Regions from separate parts of the Homo sapiens genome. Here region 2 is linked to region 1. The links are contacts of gene promoters, found by promoter capture Hi-C in human tissues and cell types (Jung and others, 2019). All regions are on one chromosome and are shown on one strand. Each heading gives the region's core, a stretch centred on a gene start or on the middle of the fragment in contact. The rest is flanking DNA. Distances are from core to core; before and after follow the strand shown.

The links. The method cuts DNA at HindIII sites, captures the fragments that hold promoters and counts their contacts. A contact is called where the count stands out against the background at its distance.
Region 2: a fragment that was not itself captured here is called in contact with the fragment with the promoter of MYCN in region 1 in 1 of the 25 tissues and cell types used here (H1 embryonic stem cells).

The regions. Positions count from the first base shown.
Region 1 is chr2:15,937,326-15,944,845 of GRCh38, forward strand. It overlaps MYCN (MYCN proto-oncogene, bHLH transcription factor), which reads left to right and starts at 3,225. Exons shown (of 3, transcript NM_005378.6): 1 at 3,225-3,418; 2 at 4,623-5,529. The coding sequence starts at 4,740. It overlaps MYCNOS (MYCN opposite strand), which reads right to left and starts at 4,360. Exons shown (of 4, transcript NR_110230.2): 1 at 4,207-4,360; 2 at 3,649-3,772; 3 at 1,175-1,400. RefSeq lists enhancers at 1,221-1,778, 2,823-3,353. The HindIII fragment of the contact is 20,661 bases long and covers 1-7,520 here.
Region 2 is chr2:15,806,849-15,814,126 of GRCh38, forward strand. No RefSeq gene overlaps it. Among named protein-coding and RNA genes, the nearest start is that of MYCNUT, 110 kb to the right of the region's middle. RefSeq lists enhancers at 2,407-3,134, 3,863-4,590. The HindIII fragment of the contact is 5,331 bases long and covers 2,802-7,278 here.

The sequences.
Region 1 (7,520 bases), core at 1,975-4,474:
CAGAATAATAGAAGATTTTGGGCAGCAATTTCACATGACTAGCAAAAGGAAACTGTTGAAATGGCTGCAGAGGCCATGGGCTAAGACCGTGAAAAACAGAGTGTAGACCAAGCTGGCTAAGACCCACTGAACCCAGCATGGCACTGGATTTGACCTAGGTTTCTCCTAGGACCTCATTATACGCTCATTAACATACTAAATCACACACCCCACTAGCATCATGACACTTCCGAGAACACCCATATTTGGTTTAAAAATAGGTGGTGTCACAGTTCTGAGAAATCTCCTTCTTTTTCTAGGAATGATCATGAATATTCTGCCTCTTGGTTAAAGAAACCCGTAAAGGTAGCAACCCCAAACCCCCTTTCGTGTGAGTCTCTCGAGTACACCCATATTCCCTTTTCTTGAGTGTGTACTTTTCCCTTTGCAATAAATCGTACTTTCACTATTTTCCAACTGGTCTTTGAATTCATTCTCTTGATGGTGTCAAGAGCCTGGACACTGGCTGGGGTCTAGGTCCCACTGGCATTTGGGGACCTCCCCTCCAACACTGTTGCACTGGGGGTTAAACTTCCAACGTGTTTTTTTTTGGAGGACACATTCAAACCATGGCAGTACTGAACAAAACCTTGGCTTTGAAACCATATGAAGATTTGTTTTGTGTGTGTTCACATAGTTGAAGTATTTCAACATTTTTAAGAGGGATTTTCAGGCTTCTCTATAAGCAGACTAAGAATCAGCATTAGCATGTTTTCTCCATGTACAAAGTCTTTTATCTTTCTACTTACAAATGAAGGTAACCAATAAATATTTGTTGAATTTTATCATTCTGTTAACCTTCAGATTCAGACTTGTCAGTAATTACTGGCTTGCATTAAAAGCAGGAGATTAGAGATTGAGGTCCAGGAAGTATAAATGATTTGCTCAAAGGCATGTAGAGTAACCAGGTCTCCTGTCCCTCTGTCCCCCTTTTCTGCTACACCTTGTCCCTCGACAAAGGGTGAATGACCTAGTGATGGTCATTCATCTGAGGAGAAAGGACAAAGGTAGGACTTTGAATCGGAGCAACTGAACCCATCCTGGCCTATTTTCACAGTCTTGCCACAGAAGATCTGGCCACCTTAGAAGGACTCATTCAGTGATCTTGGTCTTGAATAATACCATGAGTACTTACTATATACAGGTACACTGCTGTGCCGTAAGGATTCCCTCTGGAGCAAAACTGACCCAGGTCACAGGTTAGTGAGGGAGACTGAGCCTGTCTTCCACAGTGTCACGGAAGTGAGCACTAAACAAATACTCCCAGGCATGGATCATTACAAATGGAGGTGAGTGCTGGACAGGAAAGGACAGGATGCTAGGCGAGAATTCAGCAGGAGGGCTTGGTGGCGATTAGGGGGCTAGGGAAAAGCAGAAGTGGGGCTGTAAAAGGCTTTTGCAAAGATGAAGGCTTTTACATTTGTGAGGGAAATAACAATAATAAAGGTGCTTGGAAGGGCTGCTCATCCGCATTCATGGGCCTCTTCCTAGAACTCTGGGAATCTTTCTCCCTAGAGCTCTGTAGGCGTCCAGGGTCAGGGCTGGAAAGGCCTTCACAAATGCTAATCTGTGAGCATTTTATGGGTTGCCCCCTGACCCTCAGCATCCTCCTCCTTAACTAGATCCAATGGTGAGGTGAAGAGGTGGGGGCGATGGAGAATGGCATTTCCAGTTTGGAGAAAAAAGTAGGGAGAGGCGGGGAAGCCTTCCCACCCCAATCCCAGGGCCAGGTTCCCCTCTCTCCAAACAAGCCTAAGGAATGTTTTTCAAGGCAAAATCCCACCTCACTGTGTATTTGGTTGTGAAGGGGGCTGTCCAGGAGATCAGGGTTGTTTTTGGAGAGTTTGGAGGGCAGGGGCAATAATGTCTGACCCCCTGCAAACAAATACACCTGTAAGAAAAGCTAGACCAGAGTGAAGTAAAGCCAGGATTTGATGGTGGCGGGAAGGGAAGGGGCCAATGCTGCTGCTGGACAGAGGGGTGTTATTTTCCCCAGAAGAATAGCATGTCGTGGTCATCATCATAATAATAGCTGACACAACTATTATGGGCTGGGGACTTATAAGAGCTTTCATAACTCTCAGGTAGGAGGCACTACGAACTCCATTTCACAATTGAGGAAACTGAGGCACAAAGAAACGAAGTAGTGACAGCAGCTTTCCTTTTTCCCTTCAACAGTTTGGAATCAAGCTGTTTGAGCCGAGGCTGGGTCTCAGGAGGTGTGGACAGCACTTCCATCTCGGTAAATCAGATTCGCCTGCCCATAACTGGGGAGAATGGTGGCTTTGAAAAGGTTAACTTGGGAGCCCTGGGGACGGCTGCAGGGAACGTACGCCCATTCCCCCTAGGAAGCAGAGCCAGGCCGCCTCCTCCTCCGCAGTGGTGAGGACGCGTGGACAGTCCCGCGGGGGCGGCGGGAGACCTGCGGAGTGGCCGCACTCCAGGTCCGCGCCAAGGCCGGGCAGCTCCGCTTTCTGCTCAGTCTCCGCGAGGTGTCGCCTTCGGCCGAAGAAACCACCGCGGCGCCACCCTCGTAGCTCGCACTTATTTATTTATTTATTTTCAAACAAGGGGGGCGCCCCTCTTCTTTCAATTTGAAACTGGAAACATCCAGAGGTCTTGTTCCTAAGGGGGCGCGTCCTCTCCCTGCTATTTTGCACCTTCGGACTAGCCTTCTTTCGTAATTACACAGGAGCAACCTCCCTGCAAGGCCTTGCTCAACGTTGGCCTCGCGCTCAGCTGCACAACACGCAGTCAAAGCGGGGGCTGGGTTAGAAGCATCGGTCTCCCCTCCCCAACACACACCCCCGGAGCCCTCCGTAATTTTTTTTTCTTTTAATGACAAGCAATTGCCAGGCTCGCAGGGTGGGTGCTGCATTGCACCGCTCCGCGCGCAGCTGGTTCTCAGAGTGCAGCCGGTGCAAGCCCGGGGGTCCAAAAGGGCGGGAGGAGCACACCCTGGGCTTCCCAGCTTTGCAGCCTTCTCTCTGCAAAGAAAAGCAAGTGGCTTTTGGCGCGAAAGCCTTGGCGCCTCCCCTGATTTTTATGGAAATCAGGAGGGCGGGGTAAAGCCGCTTTCCTCTCCTTTCTCCCTCCCCCTTGTCTGCGCCACAGCCCCCTTCTCTCCCCGCCCCCCGGGTGTGTCAGATTTTTCAGTTAATAATATCCCCCGAGCTTCAAAGCGCAGGCTGTGACAGTCATCTGTCTGGACGCGCTGGGTGGATGCGGGGGGCTCCTGGGAACTGTGTTGGAGCCGAGCAAGCGCTAGCCAGGCGCAAGCGCGCACAGACTGTAGCCATCCGAGGACACCCCCGCCCCCCCGGCCCACCCGGAGACACCCGCGCAGAATCGCCTCCGGATCCCCTGCAGTCGGCGGGAGGTAAGGAGCAGGGCTTGCAAACCGCCCGGCGCCCAGGGAAGCGACGAGCGCCGGGGCAAGGCAAGCCCTGGACGGGATTGCGACGTGCGCACCGGGCGCCCTAATATGCCCGGGGGACTGTTTCTGCTTCCGAAACAAAACCATCTCTGGGTTTTCCCAGAAAAGCCAGTTCCAGCCCCGAAGGCATCCTGGCTAGAGGAGACCCGCCCTAATCCTTTTGCAGCCCTTACCGGGGGGAGTAATGGCTTCTGCGAAAAGAAATTCCCTCGGCTCTAGAAGATCTGTCTGTGTTTGAGCTGTCGGAGAGCCGGTGCGTCCCCACCCCAGGCTGGGGTTCTTCTCCAAAGGGTGCCCCTGGAGGAAGAAGAGGGGGGGATTAGGCAGGGCGAGGCCGCCGCGGTCGCAATCTGGGTCACGGCTGCTCCAGCTTGGAGGAGAGGCGGCTCTCCCGGCGACCCTCCTCGCGCGGGCGCCCCTGCCATTCCCGGGAACAGGGGCTCAGCCTCTCCCTCCCTGGAAGAGGACGTTGTCGTGGGTTTGGAAGAGCAGGGGTGGGCTTAGAGAGCTTCCAATTAAGCTATTGGCAGGAGTATCCCTGCAGCGGGTGAATGCCGAGGGGCGTTTGCTCAAATTTGGGGAGGGGAAGGATTTGTGGATATGGGTGTCTGTTGTTGGTCTCTGTCTAGAGAAAGGCTTTTTTTTATTTGCAAAGTTTTCTAAATCCCCTGCTATCATTTGCACTCCTGAGGTTGCATTTTTACAAAGGGGGTAGAAGGTACTCCAAATACCATTCCCGGTAGCTGGGTCGGAGAGCCTGGGGCTTCCCCTGAGCAGCCGGCCCCACACCGCTGCGAGTGCGGTTGTCTGCGTGCTCGTGAGAGCTAGAATTCTGCAGCCAGGAACAGCCCCCTCCCCCAGGCAGTGCCTTGTGTGAATGAAATGGCAGTTTCCAAAGTTGCGGAGCCTCGCCACCACCCCCTGCATCTGCATGCCCCCTCCCACCCCCTGTCGTAGACAGCTTGTACACAAAAGGAGGGCGGGAGGGAGGGAGCGAGAGGCACAACTTCCTCCACCTTCGGGAGCAGTGGGCAGAGTGGGGGGCTTGGAGGGAAGATTGGGGAACCTGGTTAGAGGGGGCGCCCATTGCCTATCCCCTCGGTCTGCCCCGTTTGCCCACCCTCTCCGGTGTGTCTGTCGGTTGCAGTGTTGGAGGTCGGCGCCGGCCCCCGCCTTCCGCGCCCCCCACGGGAAGGAAGCACCCCCGGTATTAAAACGAACGGGGCGGAAAGAAGCCCTCAGTCGCCGGCCGGGAGGCGAGCCGATGCCGAGCTGCTCCACGTCCACCATGCCGGGCATGATCTGCAAGAACCCAGACCTCGAGTTTGACTCGCTACAGCCCTGCTTCTACCCGGACGAAGATGACTTCTACTTCGGCGGCCCCGACTCGACCCCCCCGGGGGAGGACATCTGGAAGAAGTTTGAGCTGCTGCCCACGCCCCCGCTGTCGCCCAGCCGTGGCTTCGCGGAGCACAGCTCCGAGCCCCCGAGCTGGGTCACGGAGATGCTGCTTGAGAACGAGCTGTGGGGCAGCCCGGCCGAGGAGGACGCGTTCGGCCTGGGGGGACTGGGTGGCCTCACCCCCAACCCGGTCATCCTCCAGGACTGCATGTGGAGCGGCTTCTCCGCCCGCGAGAAGCTGGAGCGCGCCGTGAGCGAGAAGCTGCAGCACGGCCGCGGGCCGCCAACCGCCGGTTCCACCGCCCAGTCCCCGGGAGCCGGCGCCGCCAGCCCTGCGGGTCGCGGGCACGGCGGGGCTGCGGGAGCCGGCCGCGCCGGGGCCGCCCTGCCCGCCGAGCTCGCCCACCCGGCCGCCGAGTGCGTGGATCCCGCCGTGGTCTTCCCCTTTCCCGTGAACAAGCGCGAGCCAGCGCCCGTGCCCGCAGCCCCGGCCAGTGCCCCGGCGGCGGGCCCTGCGGTCGCCTCGGGGGCGGGTATTGCCGCCCCAGCCGGGGCCCCGGGGGTCGCCCCTCCGCGCCCAGGCGGCCGCCAGACCAGCGGCGGCGACCACAAGGCCCTCAGTACCTCCGGAGAGGACACCCTGAGCGATTCAGGTAAAGACCGAACTCGGGTCCGGCTGCCTCCCTGGGGCACTGGACCCCGGGTCGCGTCCCCTTTGTTAGTGCTCGTATGTCTTGGCCTGGGGAGCATTTTGGAGGCAGTGCTAGGGGCAGAGAGGTCCTGTTTCCCCCAAGTCTCTCCTCGGGGTAAAGAGAAGGGGCTGAGAGAATGCCGTTGCAAAAGGGGTGCTCTCCAATTCTCGCCTTCACTAAAGTTCCTTCCACCCTCTCCTGGGGAGCCCTCCTCTAGGCCATCACGGGCCCTCACCCGGTCCCCCACCTCTCTTTTGCAGCGCAGTCTGAGGAATAAAATTGGAGAAAGTTGGTGGCTAAACCGGGTGGGGGTTTAGGGGGTTGCTGGGTGCACTGCCTGGACAGAAACCTGTTAGCGCAGGGGTGAAAGGGACTCTCTGGCCCAGGTCAGGGGAGGGAAAGACATCCCGAGAAGATTCAAGGGCTGTGCAAAGCCCTGTTTAAGGCGCAGGAACTTATAGGAGGGTTGCACAGATGGCTAGAGCCGATTTTCTATTCTTTTTCTTTTTCTTTTTTTTTTTTTTTCAAATGTCGGTACCTTTCCCTTCCCCCATCCTCGGTGGGTGGTGGGCTATTTGCTCCTGGTGCGTGGCCAGCAGGCGGCGATATGCGAGGCCAGCAGGCGGGCCCGGGATCTGAAAGGCTGGGGGTGGTGGGGGCACCCTCCCTCCCTCCATTCAGCAGCTGGCTGCAAGTGCAACAGCAGTTGTGTACATTCTCAGGGGGCCTCCTCTTTCCAGTGTGCAGTGGAAACTGGCTGTAGTTTTGTCTTCCAGCCTGAATTCCAGGCCTAATTTGAGATGTGAGTTGTATCTGTAACCCAGTGCCCTTGAAGGTGAGGGCAGGCACTCAGCAGCCTCTCCAGGAAGGCTCACATCCTGGGAGGACTCACTGATTAGTTCTATTGTGTTCATTTGTCTGTGTCTTAAGCTGAAGGGAAGAGTTAAAACCAAGCCTTTCCCTGGGGGTCTGGATGAACAGAACTCAACCCAAAGAGTGGCATTGCCTTGTCCTTGGAGCAGGGAGCTGGGACCCCCCTTGGACTTTGAAAACCAGTGTTTTCAGAATGCAGGTGGATAACAAGCCTAAATTTACTTCTGGGCTGAGGAGAGATCTTTGAGGCTCCTGGAAGGAAACTTGGTGATAAGCCTCCAGTTTGAAACGGCTCTGTCCCTTTAATGTCTGTGCCTTGACAGCTTTTGGTGAGGAAGCACTTCCTTCCAACAGCTGTCTTCTTGGCAGAAAACCAAAACATTGGCTTAAAGGGACCCACAGACTGGAACAGCCTCACATTTCGGCTTTAGAACAAATCCCACAATTGTTCAGCTTTCCGGTCCCCTTCAGATCAAGCAGAAGATATGTTTTGATTTTCATGCTTGTATTTTAAACAATAATTTTCTACCCCAGCGTGGTAGTCAATGAGGAGAGAGGGGAAGAATGCGCACATGATGCTACACGTTTCTGTTGTTGCTGTTATTATTGGTGGCTTTGAGGAGAGCTGCTCCCATTTGGGGGTTTATACCAACTGTGGATTATGGCTTTGTCATTAAGATTTGATCTTTGTTAAATGAAAAACTGTTTATTGTATAAAACTCAGGTTTGTGGACGAAAAGTTGTTTTTTTTCTTCAGTTAATTAAATTGTTCCTCAAGTTTGTTTAAGGACTTAAAATCAAACACAACCATGTGTAAACTGCTAAATGAGGCTCCTAAAATGAGAGGCCTCAACTCTTTAAGTGTGGAGCTAGAAATGTAAATAAGTCCACAGGGCAGACTGGTGATTATGATAAAAGCTACCATTTACTGAGCATCTGTCTACTAGGCTCAGCTCTATGCTAAGTCTACATGTTATCTGTCAAAGTGGTATCATCCCCATTTAATAGCTGAGGAAACAGAGGCTTAGAAAGGCTGGGTAACTTGACCAGGGTCATGCAACTAGTCTGCGGTGGAGCCA
Region 2 (7,278 bases), core at 4,217-6,716, 130 kb before region 1:
CTGTAGAGAGCTCCCCCGGTATTGCACAAACATGCCTCTGTTTCAGCGTTGTACATTTACTGTCAGGGAGCAGGGTACTCACAGCACACTGACTCCTCTAACAAACTACCCCTGGGTCTCAGGGGCTTCACTGATAAGATCTATTTCTTGCTTCTATCACAGTGCAGTGCAGCTTGGCAGAGAACCACACAGTTATTCAGAGACCCACGGTCCTTCTATTTAGAGTAGAGGCTCTCAGCCATGGCATGGTGACACTTGGGAACCAGGTAATTCTTTGTTGTGGGGGCTGTCCTGTGCTCTAGGTTGTCTAGAGCAGGGGTTCTCAACCCCCAGGCCGCAGGCTGGTACCGATTTGGGGCCTGTTAGGAACCAGGCCACACAGCAGCAGGTGAGTGGTGGGTGAGCATTACCGCCTGAGCTCTGCCTCCTCTCAGATCAGTGGCGGCATTAGATTCTCCTAGGACCGATAACCCTATTGTGAACTGTGCATGTGAGGGATGTAGACTGTGTGATAATTATGAGAATCTAATGAATGTCCGATGATCTGAGGTGGAACAGTTTCATCCAGAAACCATCCCCCTACCACCATCCCCACCCCCACCCACCCCTAGTCGGTGGAAAAATTGCCTTCCACAAAACTGGTCCCTGGTGCTGAAAAGGTTGGGACTGCTGATCTAGAGCATCCTGGCCTCTACACACTAGATGCCAGTAACACACACACCCCTTAGTTGTGACACCGAAAAACGTCTCCAGACATCGCCAACGTTCCCTGGGTGGCAAGATGGTCCCCAGTCGGAGGCCACTGGTCTAGAGGCTCTGCCCTCCTCTAGGGCCTTGGAGTGCTCCACGGGGTCCTCCACCTCCACCAGGCGAGGCAGGGGAGCTGAGGGAAGAGAAAGAGCATTGGGCCACACAGGAGGCTTCATGGGCCGGGGCTGCTGGTGACATACATCCTGTTTCCTCATGTTCTACGGGACAGGCTCAGTCCCATGACTATAGCTGGGAGAGAACTTACGTCCTGTAAGGGAGGCTGGGAAAGAGAGTGTAACCGTGTGCCTGGCAGGAGAGGGAAGTGGCTTAGGGAAGAATTTGCCAACCTCTCCCACGGGTAGAGTTCATGTATTTTCTTTTCATTTCTGAAGATAAGAGAATGCTACCCGCCCCCCCCCCATTTTTTTTTTCCGTGTCAGCTGTGAGGGCTCAGTCTGGCTCCCCAGTCCATAAACCCAACCTCACAGAAGGTCTTTGAGCTCACCTGGAAAACCATGGGAACACACTCCTCCCACACGTCACCGTCCTCTCCAGCCATGGTGAACAGTGCGAACCTAATGAGGCCTAGAAGCCTTTCCACTCCCTCCAGCCACGAGGCCGCCTTCCCATGGCAGGACTAGGGGTGGCTGTCGGACCAGACGTATCAGTCCTGCCCTTGGGAGAGTGTTTCCGACCGCAAGTATGAACCCTCCTCACTAACAGCTATGCTGAAGCACAGCGGGGAGCCAGTGCAGCACAAGCTCAGCACGACCGCGGTTGTAAGAACCCACGTGGAAGCCAAGAAGCCGCGATGGGATTCCAGCAGGGGGAGCGGCGCTGATGTGGTGGGCGAGCCTGGTGCGCTTGGGAAACATCGGGCAGGCGGTTTTCTAACTGAACAGAAAGGACCCTTAGAGAACTGTGGAATATCAGGCTGTAGAGGTAACCTGGGGATCGGAACGCCAGGATAACACAAATCCTTTATTTTGCATTTTCCAATGGCGAGCGAGTGCTTTGGCTTTCCGGATGGACTAAATTTACACTAGCCAAGAAGGATTTTTCTGGAAGCTTCTATAGGAAAATGGCCGTTTTGAGCTCCGACAGGAGTCCCTCTCTCCAACTGCGTGCAAACTCCTGGAACTCCTCCACCACAAATGTTTCATGTGGTGTAGCCGAGAATTAATTAGAAAAGAAAAAAAGAATCTCTCAAGTCAAAACACATATCTCACAACCTATTAGCATTAAGATTAGCATTAAAGAAAGTTGGAAACTATAACATTTTAAGCACAATTTATAAGTCTAATTTCCTGTGTGTCACTCTCAGATAATAAATGCTTTTCCTTCAAGTTGAAAAGTCTTGGTGGAAAGTAGGGGCTAGGAGGTCGGGGAAAAGAAAGAAAAAGTTAATTTAAGGCCTATTAGTTTATTTTTAGTCGCCCAAGATCTGAGGGTCTGAGAACATTTCCCTTTTCTGATAGAACACGCCTTCCTGTGTAGCAAGGAAGTCCCCTGACCTCGGGCCTCCTCTAAGGTGCTACTGATTTTTGACAGAATTCCTCAGGCAAGGGCTTTGAAAGAGGCTGAGCCAGGCCTGTGAGGGGAGGGTGATCTGGGGCCTGGAGGGACAAGGTTAATTGCTGGGAGCATTGAGAGTGGGGTTGCAAGGCAAGGGATACCGGCCGGGAGTCCTGCTTCCTGTATTGCTCTGGAATAAGTTCGCCCACCGCTTCCATAATAAGACATTCCTGCTAATTTGCCGGGAGCTGAAAGGGATTTCTGTTTTTAGCTTTGGGTCTGTGGCAACTGTTTTGTTTTAGATGAAAATTAAATGGGGAAGGGAGCTGGGGTTGGGTGGGGGATGGGAGGCGGAGCCGTAATTGAAGTGCATTACTGCTAATTACTTCGCCCTTTCTTTCAGTCATCATGTTGACAGAGAAATCTATTACCCAGCAGCTCCGTTTCCACAAATTGCCCTTCCCCGAGGACTTTGGGGAGGAGGCTAGATGGTGCTAGGGGAAATCGCTGCTTTGTTGGAGAAGTGGGCCTCCAGCCCTCCTCAGAACGCGGCTCCAGCTGTCTCCTAACCAGAGAGAGGGAAGCTAGTGGGTACCCCGCAGGAGGCGGTGGGAGTCACCTGGGAGTCCTGTCCCACCCAGGGTCCTCCCAGCGGCCTCCTCTTACAGATCACCTGGAATGCTGATGAGGTGGGTGGGGAGACAGCCTGGTCTCTGCCTCAAAACAAGAAAGAGAGTTGGAGGAAATGCTGCCTCAAGTAGCAGCCGTGTTGAAAGCTCTTGCGTATTTGGCCAATGAAATAAGGAGCGGGGCCCTGGGCCGTGCCTTCTGCCTCATTCTGCCTCTCCTGGGCCTTCCTCATCCCTCCGCCTCTCCTCTTCCTCCTCTCTGCGTGTGACATTCCCTCTCCTCTTCCCCGGTCTTCCTCTCTCCTTCACCTCCTGCCTCCTGCCCTCCTCTTTCCTCTTGCCCTCTTGCCCTCTTGCTCCTCGTGGCTCAGCCCCACCGAGGGCCAGTGTTGAGGAGTTTGGGACAGTCATATCAGTGCCTACTGGGTTCCCCATCTCCTCCCTCCCCATCTGTCTTTCCAAGTCATCTCTTAAGACAGAGCTCTAGCATGTGCTAGGGGGTTAGACACCTATGGGCCAGTGAGAAGACGGAAATGATCGGGAGAAGAGCTCGCAGAGCCTGCCTGGCTGCAGCCCCTCCCTTGGCCTCTTCTCTCAGCCTATGCTCCCTCAAAACACATGCGTGGGGCCTCGGTGGCGAGGACGCATCAGAGACAGAGCAAGACGCGAAGTCTGCCCCTAAGAGGCTCATCGTGGCAGGTGACGGGTTGGGGAGAATAAGATGCGTCTAGTTATACCTAGAGCCTAGGACTGAATATAACCAAGGCTAAGCTGCCTTGAGACCCGGTCTCTGCTCCACAAACACCAGTCCAGCATCCACAATAATTTACAAGCAATAGAATCTTGCCTTCCGTGTCTGAAGGGAGTCTGCATTCTTCATGCTTGGCAAAGCTTCTGGAAATCCCTTTTTAATAATATGATTCCAGTCTCTCCCCATCCCCTCACTCCCCCCAGTGACCAATTCTGCCTGTTCCAGTGTGAGCCCCACTCACCGCTTTGGCTTGTCCAGGGTCCCGTCACCCATTCTCTGCCTCCTCCCTCCACACAGGGCCCGGCAGAGGCGCCTCAGAAACTCAGGTCGGTCCTCAGCAGGGCATGTGGGAAGGGCCCGGTGTCGGGCATTGTTTCCCTGTCAGTCTATAGCTGCTGTGGGTCCAGCACCCCCACCACCCACCCCAGCTAGTCTTTGAGCCTGAGAGCACATTACAAGTTTCCAAGATAAGAATGTACTGGCCCCGAAGCTTGGCTGGGACTCTGCCCTTGATGGAGGGTGTGAGGGGGGAACAGAGAGCTCCCCGGGGCATGGGCCACTGTTCTCAAGGCCTTTGCCTTCAGTTCAGGGCCCTACATCTGGAACAGAGCAGGAGGCCAGGGAAAAAATGTCTGCAGAAGAGATCAAACCGTGAATTGTTTTCCAAAGAGCTGGAGAAGGCTTAGGGTATGAACACATCATCAGATTCTGCCAAATAATGGTGGAGGGTACCTGGGAAGACAGGAGGTTATTCAAGGTCTCAGGACACCTCCCACTAGGGTACTGGACAGGTCTGTGGCCTTCCCTTCTTTCCTCACTCCTTTCTCCCATATGCCCTCGGAGGAGGAGCCTGGTGGGGGGGAAGGGGAAGTTTCAATGCATTTTCCTGGGAAATGACTTCTCCGGAGTCACATTTCTTTTAGGTCTATATGGTAGAGTCATGGACTGTCCAGCCGCCCTTGACTTAGTTGGCTGAGATCCACCCAGGAAGCAGGTCCCTGATCTCAGGCGTGGATTCTCTGGAGGGGCTGGATGGGCTGCCTGTGCCTCCTGCAGGCCCTCCTCCGCTGGAAGGAGGCAGGCCAGGAGATGCCTCGCATTCCTGTGGGGCAGTGGGCTGGAGAGGTAGTTGTTTCTTTTTTTTTTTCTTAGAGGCACGGTCTTGCTGTTGTCCAGGCTGGAGTGCAGTGGCGCCATCATAGCTCACTGCAGCATCAACCTCCCGGGCTCAAGTGATCCTCCCTCCTCAGCCTCCTGAGTATCTGGGATTATAGTTGTAAGCCACCACACCCAGCCTAGAGAGGTTTTAAGGCTTCCAGCCTCCCTTGGGGCATGGAGGTCTCCCTCCATAGGCCTGGGATGGGTAGTTGTGGTTTGGGCTGAATGCTCTTGATGATTATCAAGCTACTCCTGGGGTATCCCTGCAGATGAACATGAGACTGAATTTCTGGAAGGAGGAGAAGCTGTGATGAATGCAGAGAGGGTGCACTCGGGATAGACAGATCACTTTGTCTCAAGTGCAAATTGTGATGAATTGGAGGCCACATGCACCGACAGTCACAGGTGGGAGGAAACAGAGAGGGCACCTGGTCCATCCCTCATAGGACTGATGGAAAATGTGGACCCAGAGAAGGAGAGATGTCTGTCCAGAGCCACACACCAGGAGCCCCACCTTCACCCCCCTTTCCTCCCCGCCCCACACTCACTGCGCTCTTGTAATGAGGTTAATTCCACTACGAAAATCTCACAGGATGGAAAATCCCCCAACTGTCCCTGCTTGGGCTTAGTTTTTAGAAATTCAAGGACGTGTACACATTTCAGTTCTTTTTTTTTTTTTTCAAACTGAATGTTTAAAATTCAGGCATCTTTTGTTCCACTCGATTCTGGAAGAATAATTCTAGGGACTTCAAGATCTCATTTAACAAGCGTTACAGCTTGATGAAATGCTGATTTTCATATTGTTCTCAAACTGCACAGTTGCAGAAGCCAATGCCAAATGCAAGCAGGATATTTTGAAGGAAAAAGCTTAAAATTGAAATCCACGTTGACAAATCCGAGATGAATGGCAGCGTGATGAGCACAGGGCTGCAGTTTCTCAGTCAGCCTGGAAAGGCAGTAGGGCGTGGCCAGAGACAACAGGCTGTGGACAAGGACCTGGCTCAGATTTAGGCTCTGCGACTGCTGGCTGAGCCACCACATGCAAATTTGTTTGTAAATGATAAGGGAATCTGGACTGGCAGGGAGGATTTGGCTAGTTTTTGTGGCCTTTGAGGTGCAAATGACAAGAAACTTGAGAAAAGCAAAGTCTCTCTTAGGGTTGAGATTTCTCTGCTGCCTACAGTTTAGCTGCAGTGTTGAAAGAATAGGGAGGTTGAAAGGCATCATGTTGGATGGAAAAGAGAATTGGAGTCTGCAGATGGGGATCCACTAACCAGCAGACTTCTCATGTGGACACTGAGCTGACAGATCAGAACTTACGTACTGCGTTGAGGACAACTCCAAGTGGCACTGAGAGTAGAGCCTGGCACTGAATAAATATGAATACATTTCAAATGAGGAATTAGCAATGGCCATGCTGGACACTGTTTTGAGAAGAATTGGTGGGTTCCTGGATCAGCAGGAACATTTGCATTGATTACCCAGCCATGGACTGGTTAGGGTGGAGCAAAGGCTTCATATATGCACCATAGTTACTGACCCTGGACTAAATGAGTTCTGAGCTCCTGTGGATGGCTGTTGGCATCAGGTTCTGTGTCCACACAATGTCAGAATCACTCCCTGGAGAAGGGTCAAGCTCTAACCATCTGGACAGCTGGATGCCGGGTGTGGGGCTGCTGTGTATGGCCATGCAAGCTGTGCCCTGCACAACTCCAGGTCTGCTCTTCACATGGTCTATTGGAAGCATGGCGCCCTGGAGCTGGGCAGCACAATGGCGCTGGCTGAGAGGTAGCAAACTGCAACTGAAAAAGCACTGTCCCAGAACCTAGGAGACCTGGTTCATAGTTTTCTGTCTGAATTTGTCGCCAATTCCCTTTGGGGCCACACTCAAGGCCTTCCCCATCTTTGTCTCCAGCATCCCCATCTACATTTGCAACCACTGGTTCCCAAGTGCTCCCCCGGGGCCCTGCAACCAGCATTCCAAGCACTTGGGTGTTTTGCAACTTCTGTTTGCTTTGCCATAGAGCCAGACCTCTAACCTGGGCAACTAGACTTGTTTCTTGGGCAACTGTAAAGCCAGGCCGACTCCTCAGACCATGAGGGGCAGTGGGGGTGGGGATGGGGGTGGGCTTTCGCCACAGCTCAGTGCTCTTGCCAGCTCCCAGGCTCTGGGGCTCCCAGGAGGACTCCCTTGCAGAGGCCAGGCCCTGCTCTGCAGAGCAGGTGAAGCACTCCTGTGGACATCACCTTTGGGTACCATGCAGGGCAAGACCCAGCCTTCCTCTCTTGTCTCAAGGAATGAGCCTCACCCCACCCTTTGCTCCTCATGCACCAGCTCTGCTGACCTCACAGCAGGTCTCCATACTGGCCCTGCGGTTTCCTCCCTCTGAGCCTTTGTACAAACCAGTCCTTCTGCCTGGAATGTCCTCCCACTTCCTCTAGTCTATCCTCAAAGTCCCATCTGAGTGGAGCCAT